Regions from separate parts of the Homo sapiens genome. Here regions 1 and 3 are each linked to region 2. The links are contacts of gene promoters, found by promoter capture Hi-C in blood cells and fetal thymus (Javierre and others, 2016). All regions are on one chromosome and are shown on one strand. The core of a region is centred on a gene start or on the middle of the fragment in contact, and the rest is flanking DNA. Distances in the headings are between cores, read along the strand shown. Region 1 overlaps EEF1E1-BLOC1S5 (EEF1E1-BLOC1S5 readthrough (NMD candidate)). Region 2 holds the start of CAGE1 (cancer antigen 1). Region 3 overlaps LOC101928004 (a long non-coding RNA gene).

What was found. The method cuts DNA at HindIII sites, captures the fragments that hold promoters and counts their contacts. A CHiCAGO score of 5 or more calls a contact.
Region 1: a fragment that was not itself captured here is called in contact with the fragment with the promoter of CAGE1 in region 2 in 4 of 17 cell types (activated CD4 T cells, naive CD8 T cells, non-activated CD4 T cells and 1 more); the score reaches 7.0 in activated CD4 T cells.
Region 3: a contact is called between a fragment that was not itself captured here and the fragment with the promoter of CAGE1 in region 2, in 4 of 17 cell types (fetal thymus, naive CD4 T cells, non-activated CD4 T cells and 1 more). The highest score is 8.0, in fetal thymus.

The regions. Positions count from the first base shown.
Region 1 is chr6:8,070,902-8,075,097 of GRCh38, reverse strand. The region is part of intron 3 of EEF1E1-BLOC1S5 (EEF1E1-BLOC1S5 readthrough (NMD candidate)); the gene reads left to right. It also overlaps a transcript of EEF1E1 not described here. Among named protein-coding and RNA genes, the nearest start is that of BLOC1S5-TXNDC5, 8.6 kb to the right of the region's middle. The HindIII fragment of the contact is 6,631 bases long and covers 1-4,196 here.
Region 2 is chr6:7,388,399-7,392,129 of GRCh38, reverse strand. CAGE1 (cancer antigen 1) reads left to right here and starts at 2,388. Exons shown (of 14, transcript NM_001170692.2): 1 at 2,388-2,928. It overlaps RIOK1 (RIO kinase 1), which reads right to left and starts at 2,322. Exons shown (of 17, transcript NM_031480.3): 1 at 2,057-2,322. The coding sequence starts at 2,127. RefSeq lists enhancers at 1,650-2,436, 2,040-2,459, 2,590-2,639, 2,650-2,709. The HindIII fragment of the contact is 2,322 bases long and covers 636-2,957 here.
Region 3 is chr6:6,718,779-6,722,537 of GRCh38, reverse strand. All of the region lies in intron 2 of LOC101928004 (a long non-coding RNA gene), which reads left to right. All of the region lies in intron 4 of LOC101928047 (a long non-coding RNA gene), which reads right to left. Among named protein-coding and RNA genes, the nearest start is that of LY86-AS1, 98 kb to the right of the region's middle. The HindIII fragment of the contact is 1,788 bases long and covers 397-2,184 here.

The sequences.
Region 1 (4,196 bases), core at 1,299-3,798, 680 kb before region 2:
CTGTCTTCTCCCCCCATTCAGCAGGAGGATTGAAGCAGGACAGATAGAGGCAACAGGAAATAGGCCACCAAGCATTCTCATCCCAACTATTTCACTCTTTTCCTTCATTTTAGGTCAGCAGTGAGGAAAGAGCGGGAGGCCAGAGAGGGAAACCACCTCTTTGTCAAGCGACCCCTCTTCCCGCTTCTTCCTGTGTCTTACTCCTCTGAATCCCTCAGTCAGCTAGGCAATTCTTTATTGTGCACAACATTGATGGAACAGGTATTACTTGGTACCACCAAGTACCAGGACTTCTCGCAACTAACTTAGATCTTGGAGGATGAAGGGATGGTCGAAAGATGAAGACCTGGCTTCTGCAGCCAAGTGTTAGATCATATTCTCAGCATCCAGATCAAAACAATTCATTTCCTTGTAGAATTTCTACTGTGCTTCTTGGGTCATTTCTGTCAGGCACTTGCCTGAAATGCCCTTTCCTTCTCACTTGGTAACCTCTTCAGTATTCTGCTTTGTCAATGTCCTCATGGAAGTCAAGTCTGTCCCACCCCTGGCCCCTGATTCTGGCACTGGCATCATTGTACTGTTTTTGATTATCTGTTTCTTCCGCCGGGCTTAGTAATTTCTTGAGAGCAGAGACTATATTTTCCCTTGCTTATCCAGCCCTCAGAACAATCATTGGCACACCACAGTCGGTGCTCAATCTGGTAAAAGAATGTACTGAGCTGACTGAGCTCAGTACATTCCTTTTGAGCTGACTGAGAAAAGTATAAGTGTAAATTACACGTATATGTTATCAGTACAGCTGTATATTGCAGAAAGGCCCAGTAACATCAGGGTGGGTTGTTTTTTTCTCATGTAAAAGAAGTTAGGAAATTAGCCCACCTTTGGTGTGAAGCATCCAGCTCCTGTTTTTGCTACTCCATGCTGAACGAGTGGTTTCCATTCTTAAGTTCAACGTATGGTCCAGTATTAACGTCAGAACTCCAGACATCAAGTCTGATTAAGACCCAAAGAAACAGCAAGAGGGGGACAGCAAAAGGCTTCTCTCCCAACCTTATCAATTCCCCTGAAGGGCCTTTCCTGGAAGCCCTGTTTGGCTGTATTGATTTACAATTTTGGCCACTCCAGCTGGGAGGAGGCCAGATGTGTAGTCGGAGGGCACCCAGAATAAAGCTCTGCTCTGTCAATGAGAAAAGAAGGAAAAGGGATACTGCATAGGCAACCAGCTATCTCTGTCACAGTGAGTAATGCTTAAATGGGAAAATGCCTTCTGAGTGCCAAATGATCAATTGTATAAGATATTTTGTTAATACATTGCTGACATCACATGGATCATCAATTTGCAAAGAATTGGGATATAATACAATTTCCACTGACCACATTTCACTGACAATTTAATTTTCATGATTCAGAGCTAATTTTACGATTCTGTAGTATTCAGTTATGAAGATCTGTTAATACTTTTTAAAATATCTGTTAAAACTTTTAATAACAACAATAATAGATAACATTTATTGAGCATTTAGTGTGTATCAGGCACTATTCTAAGTGCTTTAAGTGAATTAACTCCTTTTTTATCCCCTTTTGCAGATAAGGAAGCTGAGGCACACAGAGGTAGGGAACTAACCCAACATCATACAAGGAACTGAGATCAAGGAACTGAGATTCAAACACAAATGTCTGGCTCAAACTTACCTGTAAACTACTCTACATGGAGTGCCATAAAATTCTGCTTAATTAACTTGTGGAATCAGTTTTTACCAACCTAGAAAAAACCTGCCCTAGGTATTAGATAAAATAAATGGGTACATAATTTTAAGAATAAATGAGATGGTTGCACCACTCTGGGAATATACGGAAAACTTCTAACTTGTACACTTCAAATGGTGAATGTTGTAATATGTGAATTACAGCATTAAATCATTTGGGGGTGGGGAAGCAGTGGAGTCGAGCACACCAGCCTCATCATGTATTAATTATGAGACCTTGCTCAAGTCACTGCACATGGAATTCCTCATATGAAATAGGGGTAAAGACAACTGATCTCATTTAATTTGCAGTGGGAATATATAAAAATTACTCAGCACTGTGCCTAATATGTAGAAAGTTATGAGTAAAGGTCAAACTGCTATGGAAGATTGTAAAATCATAAAGCCAAATTATTAAGACTTTTCCTACCTGCCAATCATCCCTGAGGTACCAACTTGCTCAACATGTGAGCCTGAGATAAAAATGGTGGCAGAGCATCCTGGGATTTTGATAAAACATGAATTTACATTACTTACCAGTTTAAAAGTCTCTCATGCCTGTAATCCCAGCACTTTGGGAGGATGAGGCAGATGAATCACAAGGTCAGGTGTTCAAGACCAGCCTGGCCAACATGGTGAAACCCCATCTCTACTAAAAATACAAAAAATTAGCTGGGCATAGTGGCAGGCACCTGTAATTGCAGCTACTTGGGAGGCTGAGGCAGGAGAATTACTTGAACCCAGGAGGCGGAGGTTGCACTGAGCTGAGGTCGCGCCACTGTACTCCAACCCTGGTGAAAGTGCAAGACTCCATCTCAAAAAAAAAAAAAAAAAAAAGTCTCTGGTTCTCACACTTTTCAAGCTGTTGGAAAAAAGGACCATGCTGTCTTTCTTATTTTGTTTCTAATAGATCAATGAGCCAGGTGTGGTGGCTCACACCTGTAATCCCAGTGCTTTGGGAGGCTGAAGCAAGAGGATCACTTGAGCCCAGGATTTGAGATTACAGTGAGCTATGATTGTGTCACTGGATCCCAGCCTGGGCAACAGAGTGAGACCCTGTCTCTTAAAAACAAAGATTGATTAGCTGGGCACGGTGGCTCACGCCTGTAATCCCAGCACTTTGGGAGGCCGAGGCGGGCAGATCACGAGGTCAGGAGATTGAGACCATCCTGGCTTACACGGTGAAACCCCGTCTCTACTAAAAATACAAAAATATTAGCCGGGTGTGGTGGCAGGTGCCTGTAGTCCCAGCTACTCAGGAGGCTGAGGCAGGAGAATGGTGTGAACCCGGGAGGCGGAGCTTGCAGTCAGCTGAGATCCCCCCACTGCACTCCAGCCTGGGCGACAGAGCGAGACTCCGTCTCAAAAAAAAAAAAAAAAAAAAAAACAAAGATTGATGCGACCTGTCTAGAAGAGAGTGCAGCTATCTTTGTGAATGCTCTTCCTTCTGAAAAGTGAAAGCCCCTTTCCAAGGATTTTCTTTCTGTAATTCCGAGAAGCCTACAGCACTGACCAGTCAATGATAATCTAAATATTATTTAGGTCATACTGTGTAACAGAACTCTGCTAGGCCCTGCAGATAACGCAGTCACGTCCCTGCCCTCATAAAGTTTACAATCCAATGGTCTGTGAACACATTCCTGAAACGGTATATAGAGCACTCTTTGGGAGGCTGCCAGCCACTCAGCATTGTTTGAAAGTAAATAATTAGATATCATTTACTGAGTATTTAATATGTTCTGAGCTCTGTATGGGAATTTTACAACATTAATATGATCTCATGTTAATTTAGGAGCTAGAGAGGAGGCAGAGACTAACCCACATGCTAACCACCACCTTGGTTAGACCATGACTGAAGTGGGAACTGTATGATTTCAGGGTTAGAAGACCATCTGTTGCCATGTTCACTGGATTTGATTCAACTCCCCTGATTAGACACATGTCCCTATTCCATGTGAAACTTTTAGGAACAGACCAAAAATTCCAAGTAGGGAAGAATCACTCTTCAGTCAAACGTCTGTGAGCTTTTTCATTAATTAGAATAAAAACGAGTTTTAAAACAAATAGAAATTATAGAATGGGAACAATGTCAAACAACCACAGCCATGCTTATACCCAAGCATCCAAGAGATCATGAAGTATTTTGTGTAGTTCTGCAGTTGTGAGTCTCTTCCCAAGCAATGACTATCACAATATGGTAGAAAAGGTGACATAGCTCCAAGAATGACATAATCATCCATCCATGACCCGACTTCCCAGTTAAACACCCCATCTCCCACCCCCAGTTCAGCAAAAAGATTATTCACTAAGGCTTTTAGCAGATATATAGGAATTCTCATGGTTACTCCCAGTTACACCTAAAATTAAGATGGCCAGATATGTAGTAGTTTATTTGCTAGCAGTACTGGTAAACTCCCACTTACCCCACCCAATTATACCTGAGCCCACGGT
Region 2 (3,731 bases), core at 1,139-3,638:
TAATTGTGCATACCAAACAAAACATGTCTGCAGGCCAAATTCAACAGAGGACTCAGTTTTTACCTCTCATGTACAGAAAAGGACAGAAACCATAAAAAAGCAGCTGATAATATGAGATACCAGCTGAAAAACAGACGAGTTTAAGTAAATTCAGATTATCAATCCCAATTTATTAATTAGCCATGGCTCTGAGGGTTCCCCGTGGACATGTGGAGGAAGAAAACAGACAATCATCAAACACTTGCTACTTACCAGGACTTCATACATATGCTCCACAGATTGATATATAATTGCCTAGAGTGGCATGTTAAAGTTGTAACTTTGCCAGATAATTCTTCGTTGTGGGGGACTGTCTTCTGCACTGTAGGATTTTTAGCAGCATATCTCTGGCCTCTACTTACCAGATGCCACTAATGTACCACCACCCCCAGCTGTGACATACAAAAACGTCTCCAGAAATTGCCAAAAGTCCCCTGGGTAGAAGTCGGGATGGCAACATCTTCCCCAATGGAAAATCACTGGTGTATCCTTACAATACCCTGGGGTGGATGGTAAATTAGTGCCCTCTCATTACCATTAACTACCCACTAGCTATGCTGGCTGTGTTTCTTCTGCTGCTTTTCTTCTCTAAAGCTTTTTGTACACTTCTCCGTAACCATAAAACTGGAATGCCCTTCCTCTTTCTCTGGCTAACCCCTACTCATCCATCAAGTATCAGCTCACTATCACTTGCTCAAGGAAGTCTTCCCTATTTTTCCCCCACTTCTCCTTTGTACTACTTACCCAATTCGAATACAAATAGTCTAATTATTTAATAATATCGGTTTCCCCTGCTAGGGTGCAAGCTCTGTGTCATTCAGGATGGTATTTACCAATGCCTCCCTACCACCTAAGACTAGATCTGACTCACAGAAAGCATTCAACATACATATATTTATTGAAAACATCCCCAATAATTAACAAAATCCGCATGTGATGAATCCTTACTGTAAACATAAAGTACAAGCTGTTTTCTTGGAATTCCAAAATAACTCCAATATGTTTCATTTTGCTTTTAGGCAGGAGTTATCCTTCATCCCTCTTTCCCCAGACTCCACGTCCAGTCTACCACCAAACGCTGCCACTTCTACCTCCAAGACATATCTTTAGGATCTGGGCTCTAGTCCCCACCATCTTTGAATCTGATTACCTTATTATTTTTGAACTGGTCTCTCTGTTCCACTCCCACCCTCCATGAACATCATCTACCTAGAAAGAATGATTCCTTTAAATCACCAAGCAAATAATGTCATTCTTCTGCTAAAATCCCTCCTATGGCTTTCCATAAGACCCACATTAATATCTGAACTTTTCACCATCACTTGTAAAGGTCTCCATGATCTGGCCCCCCTTCTTACTTCTCTATCACCCTACCAATCTTCTCAACTACCTCCACTGTGCTCTAGGCACTCTGGCCTCGGGGCCTTTGCTCTTGCTGTCCCTTCTGTGTGAAATGCTGTTCCCTCTGCTCTTGCCAGGATTAGCTCCTTGTCATTCAAATCTGGACTTAACCTTTCCCTACCCATTCAGTCACCACTTGGTATATCAAACGATTTGCATAGTCTACATCATTATTTGGTTTTTAAATGGTGTGCCCTCTCTTTCACGTAGAAGGTAAAGTTCCATGACAGCAGGAAGTTGGTTCTTCTTGTTACCTCCGGCGCCCAGGACAGAACGTGGTACATATTAAGTGCTTAGTAAGTATTTGTTGAACGCTAAATGTGGTTAAAACGCAAAAACCCATGTTTCCTAATCGCTATCCCCAACTCTGCCTCCCAGTGACGCTAACCGACCTGAGAACCGCAGACTCCCTTGACAAGTAGCTTTCACTTAACTCTGCCGCGTGAACTGGGAGAAAAACCCAGCTGGGATGCAGAAACAGGCAAAGGGTTGTCAAGAGAGACGCTGAGTGATGAACCACTAGTCTCCCTCTAAACCGCAAACAAGAGTCCACACCCCAAGGGGGCGGTCAAGGAGAGAGCCGTACCCAGAGCCAGGGCACTGTACGGCCGCCTACCTGTCAGAGGAGTCCGCGTCGTCGAATTGCCCGGGGACCACCCGGCTCATGAGAAGCCGCCGGTAGTCCATGACTGGAGAGCGCCGCCGGAGGCCGCCGCTCTGCGATGGAAAGGAACGGCTCAGACGGATGTACCCACGGCCGATCCAAAGGCCTTGGCGTGGATATCCGCCTTGCAAACCATTCAGAAGCCAACAGTGGCCACCACGTGCGACGGGAAAACGGGACCGACAGATCCACCACCCTGCCACCCCAACCGGAAGCCCCTCACCGCCTCGCCCGGAAGTCTGACTTGAGCGGAAGTCCCGCCCCTGCGCCGAGCTGGGAGTCCGGAGCTCTCTGGATGGCGCGCTGTATAGGGCTGTGGATGTTCTGTGCTCTCAGGAAGGCGTGTTGAGTAGCCGGCACGGCGAGGCCCGTGCTGGCCGTTTCTTCCCGGAGTTTTCGTTTCTGTACCCCACTTTGTGTTTACTGCGGCAGGAGGCGCCAGCTAGCCCACAGGCTGTTCGGCCTAGGGGGTCGTACCTTCCTAACTTCACCACTCTCTGGGAAGACACCGCACCCACAGTAGGGTCGCTCGGGCCTCGCGGGCTGCACCTGTCTCTGCGGAGTTCCCCCGGCGCGGGCGGACGTCACACAGGGGCGTTCCAGCACTCCGGGAGCCCGATTGCGAGTTTGTGAGAGTCCTTGGTGGAGGAGGTTGGAAAGCGTTCTCCCTCCCACAAAACCCGGTGCAGAGGGAGGGAGAGCCAGGTCCGTAGCGTGGGTCCAAGAAACTATGGATCCTGGAAGTGAGCACACTTTTGTGTCTTAAAAAGTTTGGTGTCTCGTTTTGAGGTGAAAAATGAATGAGATAAGTGCTTTTTAAAAAGGTAAAGTTTGTCTTACAACTGAAAAAGCTTTTAAACAAAACTATAGTTTTTGCGAGTAACTCCCGTGACACCTCTTTTAACTCCTATCTTAAAACAGCTTTAGAATGTCTCTGGAACATCTATTCAAACATTTGATAAATATGTTAAAAATCCAACATAAACCTGTAAGGACAAATGAAAGATGGAAAAAATAGTCTAACTTTAAATTAAAAAGGTAAACTGGCAGATTGTGCAGTGCCACATGAGGGATGAACAAAGTTGTAGAAATGTAATTGGAAGTGCTGGGTTCACAAACAAGAAAACTAAGAAACAAGGCCTTTGCGCTTTTTTGCATTGGGAAAACAAAGCAAGAATTTTTCAGATCTCACCACAATCCAGGCAGCATTATTTGAAAGACAAGGGAGAAGTGAGCATAAAGTTGGGCCTTTCACTGATCCTGACTGGTCTGCTTGGCTTACTTTTTTATATTTTACCAAGTGATGACATAGGTTTGAAAACAACTAATTTTCAATAAACTATTCATTCAGAAATTCAATAAAAGAATCCAGGCAGATGAGTAATGACTATAAATTGAAAGAGCTTGATAGAAATAAGTCATTGGAATGCAGGTTTTATTCAATCAATATTTGCTGTGTAGACAGCACTGGTCCATTTGCAGTAGGGGATATTGGAAAGCCCTAAGTATGCTCCTCTCAAGACATTTATGATCTGTAAACACAAACACTAACACCCTTGAAACAGTGGTGAAGCTCTAAAACAGTAAACGAAATCACCAAGTGCTGAATTGTAAGATAGAGATTTAG
Region 3 (3,759 bases), core at 41-2,540, 670 kb after region 2:
AGGTGCATTGCCACACCCAGCTAATTTTCAAAAAATTATTTGTAGTGAAGTCTCATTTTGTTGCCCAAACTGGTCTCCAACTCCCGGGCTCAAGCAATCCTCCCACCCTGGCCTCTCAAAGTACTGAGATTACAAGCGTGAGCCACCACACCCGGCCAGCTTTGCCACTTTTATAGGCTCACAGGCAAGTTACTTCTCCAAGCCTGTTTCCTCCCTGGTAAAATGAAAATGTGAGCATTAGATTGTTTGGATGCAGGGCTTATTCTATTGGAAGAAGTCAGTATTAAGGCTTGAGCAGATGGGAATGACATGTAGAGCTGGTTTTGGTGAGTTCTGTGCCGCATTTGGACCATGGGCAGGTGCGGGAAGGGGATATAGGATCCAAGTAGAAAAGCTTTGCAAAGAAAGACAATGGTTCAGAGAGGACAGACCTGGGACTCCTTGTGGAGAAACTGGTTCAGATCACAACCTGAGTCTTAAGAGCAGCCTCTGGGCAGGAGTCAGAAAGCTGGAGAAACATAGGAGAAACCCAAGAGGCCAACTCTGCATGGGGAATATAGCAGAGAAGAGAATAGGACAGGACCTGCAGGGAGAAGTTTTGGCAGAGTGGAAAAGGGGAGCTGAGGGGGCCCCAAACTGGGAATCAGTCCAAAGACACCAGTCTGCCAGGCTGAGAGGGGAACTTGGAGCAACAGCTTGTTAAGCACTTGATTAATGAATAAGCTGCTGGCTGGTTCAGGTAAGGGTGCACCTGTGATTTACCTAATCCCTACAAAGCTCACACAGTGAGATCTCCACGCACTCAAGTTGTTTTGTACTCGAAGTGCTTGACTGAGCCTGGACTGTGCTGAGCAGCCTTGTGGGAGGGACTCCTAGGAGAAAGTTTCTTAAAAACAAAAATAGACTCTTGGGGTGGTGGTTCTTGCCCATTAACCAAAGTGGCAATAAAAAGTTGCTTTTAAACTTGGGAGCTCCAGAAGCTATTATGGGACAAAATATGAGCAGAAGTTAGTAGTGTAGTATATCACTCTAGAATTTAGATTCTTTCATCCTTATGACCTTTCTTGTATAGGTATTTTTTTGTTCCTATAAACTAAGACTTTTAATTAAACCACAACACTCATAGAGAAAACTGGCAAAATTCTAAATATTTGGTTGATAAAAGTTCAAAAACTCAAAAGGCTTACATAACCAGCACTCCCATTAAACTATAGAACACGACCAGCTCCCGGGTACACACCTTGACCACTTCTCCAGGACCAGCCCTCATCCTTTCCATAGCTTAGTTTGCCTGTATTTCCTCCCTTTGGTTAAAAGAAACTAATTGTGGTAAAATACAACATAAAATTTACTATCTTAACCATTTTTAAATATACAGTTCAGTGACATTTCAACATATTCATTGTTGTGCCACCATCAACACCATCTGCCTCCAGAATTCTTTATTTTGCAAAACTGAAACTCCATATACCTTAAACAACTCCCCATTTCCCCTGCTCCCAGCCTTTGGCAACCATTCTTCTACCTTCTGTCTCTATGGACAGTACTCCTCTATGTACTTCATGCAAGTGGAATCATAAAGCATTCATCCTTGTGTGTCTGGCTTGTTTCACTGAGCTTGATGTTCACAAGGTTCATCCATGCTGCAGCGTATATCAGAATCTCCTTCTTTTTTAAGGCTGAATGTATTTCATTGTGTGGATACAACACATTTTGTTTACTCATCTATCTGTTGTTGATGGACGCTTGAGTTGCCTCCATCCTTCAGCTATTGTACATAATGCCGTTTTGCACACGGATGTATAAAGATGTCTTTGAGGCCCTGCTTTAAATTCTTTTGGGAATGTACCCGGAAGTGGAATTGCTGGATTATATGACGATTCCATTTTTAATTGTTTGAAGAACTGCTATACTGGTTACTCACAGCTGGTCTTGTTGGTTTTTAACTTTATATTCATGGAATCATTGAGTGTGTACTCTTGTGTCTGGATTTTTGGTTCAACTTCGTGTCTGTGAAACTCAAACTTTGTCATTTGCAACAAGCATCCTAGTGTTCTAAGGAGTTATAATTACTTGATTTTTGTTTGTGTGTGTGCTTTATATTCCCATGTCTTATTAAGCCATGCTTTTTTTATAGGTAGATCCTTCCAGTTCTGTCATTAGCCGTGCAGCATGTGGTAAGCTTATTGAGTAGAGTAGAACATTTCTTTTTTAAAGTTCAACAGAAACCTTTGCTAAACGCATTTTCTAGACGTTACATCAGGTCCTGTGATTCTCGTCTCCTGTGGGGACATCAAGCCTCAGCTCTGTTTCTGGTGCTCTAATAAACTCCACATTCCATGTGACAATTCCTGCAGAGTCCTCCAATTGGGCCTACTAGTATGGCCAGGATGCTTTTTAATTTTAGGGCTCCTTTTATAATTTTATGATAGAGTACTTCGATCAGCCCTTTAGTTATCCTGGCTGAGAAGCACTCCATCTGTTAAGATCACCCTACATTTCACACCACCTCTAAACTGGCTTTTCCAATGAACTCCTCCATCCAAAACCATGCAGTGGAAATCAGTGCAGTTGGAATTACCTCTCTGCAGAACCTCTGAAGCTCCTGTGGGTTTCTCTGAATACTTTTTTTTTTTTTTTTTAACATTTTTGTAGATGTTGTGAAAAACATTTCTTGTAAATCAATATCTAGTTTAGTAATGTGTCAATATCACCTCTTTAACAAGGTCTTGTTGAAATGTTCCAGCAAGGTCCAGCTATGTTCCAGGGGGTCAGAGAAGTGTGCCCCTAACATGGTTGTGGGGAACAGAGCATTTCCTCTGAGGAAGGAGCTTCTAGGACTAGAAATGAAGGGCCTTGGGAATCTCCCTAAGCCATCAGCTTACAGTGGAGCGGAGCGGACAGAATTCTTTCTATGCTCTTTGGTGATTTCAGGATGGAGCATGGAATAGGAGCTGCTCATGATATGTTTAGGTGGAGTCAGGGGTCCTGGGTTTCAGTCCCTCCTCTGACTCTTAACAGAACGTAATCTTGAGCAGGTCATTTGACCTTGCAGAGCCCTGGTGTCTCCATTGGTGAAAAAAGCATCATTTACAGAGATCTTAAGTTGTCTCGTCTGTTGTGGTCTTTCATGCCTCCATTCCCAGAAAGCTGCCCAGCCTTCGAGCTCCTCATCTTGCTTAGGAGGTTTGTGATGTAGGACTTAAGCAGATTTTCCCTCATGGATTTTATTTTGAAAGCTTAAAGTCATACAGGAGATCACGCTAGCTCGTGCCTAAGGATGGGGGGGTGAGAGGACAAGGCCATTGAGGGCTGGTGCTTTTGGTTTGGTTTGGTTTGGTTTTCAAGGAGAGCTAGCTGCCCAGCAGAGACAAGACAGGTTGCTTTCCGTGGCTAGGGGAGAGTCGGGTTGGGAATTCAGGGGGGTCGCTAGGAACTCGAGTCCTGGATTGTCAGTCACAGCTCCCAGAGGTGGCCAAGCCTCGGAAAGGGGTGGTGCATCCTGTGAGCAGCACACAGATCTCTTTAAGGTACCAGGTGGGCCAAGACAATGATCTAGTAAGGATGACCAGGGAGGAAAACCAGAGAAGCCACCATGCATGTTCTCCTTTGCTCACAGTCATGGACCTTTGCCTTTGGAACAACTTTAGGAGCTGGGATGAGACAGGACAGTGGAGAAAGGGCTGAGGTTGAATTTCTGACCACTCTAGTGGCATCTGGGCTTAGAATTCATTTAATTCAATCAATATGAAGAAATGG